Regions from separate parts of the Homo sapiens genome. Here region 1 is linked to region 2. The links are contacts of gene promoters, found by promoter capture Hi-C in human tissues and cell types (Jung and others, 2019). All regions are on one chromosome and are shown on one strand. Each heading gives the region's core, a stretch centred on a gene start or on the middle of the fragment in contact. The rest is flanking DNA. Distances are from core to core; before and after follow the strand shown. Region 1 has its middle 310 kb from the start of METTL4. Region 2 holds the start of METTL4 (methyltransferase 4, N6-adenosine).

Region 1 (2,700 bases), core at 83-2,582, 310 kb before region 2:
ATAATGCTTGGATGTTGTAAGCCACTAAAATGTGTCACCACAGGGAGACATTACCTCTGCTGACCGGTCCCAGAGGCCAGCATGTCGCCCATCCCGGCACATGGCAGAGGAAACCCAGAGCAGGGCTGTCGTGCCCCCGTGCGTCAGTTAACCCTGAACACCAGTTCCCAGCCCCACACTGTAGCTGCTAAGCAGCAGCCAGGTTCCTCAACAGGTACTCAATTTTGAGCAGAGAATTAGGAGAGCTCTGACTTCTCAGTTTTTATAGAGTGCCCGGCTGTGTTGCACCAAGTCAGACAGGGAGAATGCCATCTGTCAGCCGTGGCATTCTGAATGAATCTTAAGGCACATCATTTAGAGAGAATGCTATAATAGAAAATGAAAGGCAGCATGATGTAAAAGGAACAAAGGCCCTGTTCTGCAGTTCCAAAGCTTTTACCTGGCAAAATTTAAACCAATATGTTGACAAAAATCAATGAAAGAAAACTATGCTCTCAAAGATTGTTGTGTAACAAGGGGGAAGTCTTGAGATGCTCAAATCTAAGAGTTTCCAAGTGGCATGCAAAATTTCATGTCATTTCTCCACATCTTTGGGAATATGGTGGGTGTTAGTTACCTAATCAACAGTTAACATAATCATCGTTCTGTTCTGAATCTAAGGTAGATTCTTCCATTTGAAAATTCAAAATTCACAGTTTTATGGCTCATTAAGACCCTTCCCTGGTCCCTAGGGGCAGCTACCCCTCAATGCTGCCCCCACTCCACAATACCAGTATTGATGGTCAAATTCACCTCTGCCTAGCATTCCCCTCCCTATTGGAGGTGCTGTCAAAACAGCATGCATGCCCTCCAATTCAGCAGCTTGAAGAGAGCATCTTTGAGATTTCATTACCCAGCACAATGGACTGACTGTTAATGTTCACAATGGTCATGTGAATATTCTTCACATAAGCAAAATTCATAAGTTGTAATCCTAACCCCCAGTGTGATGGTTATTAGGATGTAGGGCTTTTGAGAGGTGATTGGGTCATAAGGGGTCTCATGAATGAAATTAGTGCCCTTTAAAGAAAAGACATGAGAGTTTGCTTTGTCTGCAGTCCACCACATGAGAATACAAGGAGAAGGTGGCTGTCAGCAACCCAGAAGAGAGCCCTCACCAGAACCCGATTATATTTACATTAGCTCAATGATCTCAGACTTCCAGCCTCCAGAACTATGGGAAATGAATGTCTGTTATTTATAAGACAGTCTGGGGTATGTTGTTATATTATAGCCTGAGCTAACTAAGACACCTGGACCCACAGATGACACTGGTCATCATATCCTGCTAAACATCCATCCTTTAGATATCTATCAGTGTCCCTGCAGATGGCTCTGAGAGGAACACTGGTGTGGGTGAACAAGAAAAGCATTCCAAGTGAACAGCCATGGCAGAGGTTCTGCGGACTCTCTAGGCTCCCTGCCCTGGCATACATAGCCCCAGGGTTCTTTCCTCATGGTAACTACATAGTGCAGGAGACTGTGGTTACTTTACTTCTGAGATTCTCTTCAATGCAAAATTTATTCTTATAAGTTTGTGTATTAAGTTATGTTATATTAATTTTATGTATTACATTATTTTTCTACATTTGTATTATAGAAACACTTTCATAGATTATTTCAAAGAATAATTCTTTTATTTTTTTTTGTTGGTTTGTTTTTGAGATGGGGTCTCGCTCTGTTGCCCAGCCTGGAGTGCAGTGGTGCAATCTCAGCTCACTGCAGCCTCTGCCTCCTGGGTTCAAGCGATTATCCTACAATTCTCCTATCTCAGCCTCCTGGGTAGCTGGGACTACAGGCACTCGCCACCACACCCAGCTAACTTTTATGTTTTTAGTAGAGACAGAGTTTCACTATGTTGGCCAGGATGGTCTCAAACTCCTGACGTCAAGTGATCTGCCCACCTTGGCCTCCCAAAGTGCTGGAATAACAGACGTGAGCCACCGTGCCCGACAAAGAATAATTTTAAATGTCCCTAAAGCTGCGCTGTGAAACTGTGAACTGTGATTGGAAGAACAGTTGACTCCTGAACAACACAGGTTTGAATTGTATGAATCCACTTATACGCAGATTTTCTTCCACCTCTTCTACCCATGAGACAGCAAGACCAACCCATCTTCTTCCTCCTCCTCCCCAGCCTACTCAACATGAAGATGATGAGGCTGAAGACCTTCATGATGATCCACTTCCACTTAATGAAGAGTGCATCTATTTTCTCTTCCTATGGTTTTCTTAATAGCATTGTTTTCTTTACTTTATTTTAAGAATATAGTATATAATACATATAAAATACAAAATAATGTGTTAATCAACTGTTTGTGTTATCAGTGAGGCTTCCATCAAGAGTAGGCTCTTAGTCGTTAAGTTTCTGGGAGTCAAAAGTTATGCGCAGATTTTCAACTGCACGGGGGTCCACACCCCAAGCCTCACTTTATGCAAGGGTCAACTGTATTGGCAATGTAATAAAATCCATTCACAGCCCTTCATTCTTCTAAGGCTTTGACTTTTCCTGCATTTCAACTATTATTCAAAGATGGCAGCATCTTAAGGCCAAAACTATGTTTCCAGGTCCTCCTTTCCCTTTTATTTCTTTCTTATACTAACTCCTACATTTTTGTTACTGTCAGAAGGTAAACTACCTCTCTCTGAGCCAAGAAATAA
Region 2 (2,700 bases), core at 133-2,632:
AAATTGAAGTTTTAAACAGGGCTCACATGTGATCATCCTTCCATCTATTGGAGTCTAGCTTGAAATGTGACAACCGGAACCAAAAGAACCTTGAATTTGGTGCCTACTTTGGTTTTGGTGCTGCTGCTTCTCAAGATCCTCAGCAGGGATTAAGAAGTTGGGGTGCACAGCAGGAATATCAGGAAATTGGCAGGCTTGACTTCCTGGCAAATTGCTAGCAGGACCACTAAATGCTGAACTGTACTGTGAATGTATACCGAAATACAAGCAATTATTTCTGTACTAAAGGTGTTTTTAATTTTGTATTTGTGTAAAACCACCTTTGGAAGCAGCAACTATCTAGTCAGAAAAGCAAATGATGTTTCCATTAATCTTTTCTGGGGAAAACATTAGTGCTAAGGATTTAACAATCTGTAGGTAAAGTTTAACCTAACAGTATTCCACAAGGAGACTTTTTATTATCAGACGGTTGCCTAATTTTCATATAATTTTTATATTAATATAATCCTTGGTTCCTCCCCATCCCCTTCATAGGCCACAGCTGAGGTGAAAAGGGTCCTGGAATGGCTAGTGAGAGCTAGAAATTCAGACGGGAAAATTGAAACTCAGAGCAGAAAGGCAAGCTGCCCAAAAATAACAACGCTAGTTAATGGCACAATTGCTACCAGACCCAAGTATCCAGACTTCCTGGAGCTGTGAGATCTTTCATCACCACCACTCTCCAGGTACCGGGCAGTGCCTGTTTCTGGATTCAAACTCACAGCAGCGAGGAAATCCTATTTTAGCAAAGTGATCTACTGTTACTGTTGTTAGTGCACCCCTCTCCTGCGTCTCTGCTTCACATCCACTCCCTCGCCGCCCGCCCCCAAACACTTGGATTCTTCCTAGCCTCTCACAGGTCAGCCACCACCAGAGGACCGTGAGCCTCCGGCAAGTGATCAAATACTGAGCCCGAATTTCGGCAGCCGTACCAACGCAATCCTGGGAGCCCATTCCACCCACTCCGCAGCCCCTCTCCCACCTCACCTCTTCCCTTGTCAGAAAAGCGGACGCCGCCTTCCCAGACTCTCCTCATGAAAACAGCACCCATCTAAATAGTGATCATGAAAAATGCCCCTTCCAGTCCACAGAGAAAAAGCTTTCTCCTTTTCTAAGAGTCCATGGGCGCCGCCATGTTGCTGTACGGAAAAACGTTTCCAGGGCGAGTTGAGCGTTCAGGGCACTCCTCGGCGCTCAAGCTGCCCACAGGTCTTCCGACCTAACTTTAGGGGTCGTGCCAGTCTTCGTAGAGACGGCCACACTGGCCCACAGACCCCAGTTCCTGGGGTGACGCAGCTGGGCGCGACCAGCACGCAGCCTTCCAGCGACGAGGCGGTCGCATGGAAGTTACTGCGCGCGTCGTGCGTAATGACGTCAGCGCCGGCGGAGAATTTCAAATTCGAACGGCTTTGGCGGGCCGAGGAAGGACCTGGTGTTTTGATGACCGCTGTCCTGTCTAGCAGATACTTGCACGGTTTACAGAAATTCGGTCCCTGGGTCGTGTCAGGAAACTGGAAAAAAGGTGACTGAATGACATCGGATTAACTTTGTTTCTGCAGAGCTGTTCTGGAGGAAGAAAGTGATGGCGCCAATGACTTAAATTTAGAGGTCCTGAGGCGATGTTTTGGTGTTTGTTTGCTGTTGGGAGAAGCCTCGAGGCCAAAACTGTGCGAGGCGCTGGTTTCACGGGATCTATTAAATTTCTAGTGGCAACGATTTCCCAAGGAGGAAAGGGGAGGGCCTGGGGGACACTGATGAGGAGTGGAGGCTCGGGAGAGGAAACGGGGAAGAATTGAAGGGGGCGGAAAGAGATGGACAAGAGAGGACTCGTTGGGTGGGTTGCGTCTGAATACTAGTGTAGCTTCTTATGGCCGTGTAGGACTGCGTGTAGAAGTCTTCATCTTAAATCATGAGAGCTACATTCTAAGTGGAGATTAAACGTGGACACACAGGTGTGAGTGGAAAAGTTGAATAGATGAACAAGCGCATATTGAAGAGGAAATAGGCGGCCAAAATCAAGAAGAGTCTAATCAGTGTAAAAGACTAAGGAGTACCCAGAGAAGTAAAAGGATTGTCACCTTCCTGAAAGCCAGGGCAGGACCTGAGAAGGCTGGGTGCAGAGATGAGACAGGATCAAAAGTTTTGTCAATCATGTGTATCCTAGGAGACAAATTTTTTAGCAGATGTGAAGGGAGTGACCTGTTAATGTGGTTTGTAAATGGAGGCAGCCTATAGACCATTTTATGGACCGGATGATTTATCCTTGTTGAAGGGGAGATTGATGCCAAAAGGGCAGTAATTGAGGAAACAATGGGTTAAGGACAGAGCAGGAGAGATTGACATTAGGAAAACAGAATAATTCCATTCTCTGAAACCAAAGAAAAGGAAACATTTTGAGGTGAATAAGAGAATTTGAGGTAATTTTTTTGTCTTCCTATTGAAATAGGCACAGCCAACAGCAGTAATGTGGTCTGGGTAACAGACAGGGCTTTAGCTACCACGGATACCCTTGTGAAGGCAAAAACCGTAACTTACTCGTCTTTGCATCTCCTGCATTGCCTAGCACACTCCCCTATATATATAGTGGGCAGTTAATAAATGTTTATGTTGAATATTTTTAAATGGAATTAAATAGATGTTCCTTGCAAATGAGAACTTCAG

Evidence for each region. Contacts are between HindIII fragments. The study calls those that stand out against the background at their distance.
Region 1: a contact is called between a fragment that was not itself captured here and the fragment with the promoter of METTL4 in region 2, in 5 of the 25 tissues and cell types used here (H1 embryonic stem cells, IMR-90 fibroblasts, dorsolateral prefrontal cortex and 2 more).

What each region holds. Positions count from the first base shown.
Region 1 is chr18:2,263,355-2,266,054 of GRCh38, forward strand. No RefSeq gene overlaps it. Among named protein-coding and RNA genes, the nearest start is that of METTL4, 310 kb to the right of the region's middle. The HindIII fragment of the contact is 8,974 bases long and covers 1-2,700 here.
Region 2 is chr18:2,570,123-2,572,822 of GRCh38, forward strand. It overlaps METTL4 (methyltransferase 4, N6-adenosine), which reads right to left and starts at 1,383. Exons shown (of 9, transcript NM_022840.5): 1 at 1,027-1,383. NDC80 (NDC80 kinetochore complex component) reads left to right here and starts at 1,435. Exons shown (of 17, transcript NM_006101.3): 1 at 1,435-1,561. RefSeq lists enhancers at 476-1,398, 1,281-1,440. The HindIII fragment of the contact is 12,565 bases long and covers 1-2,700 here.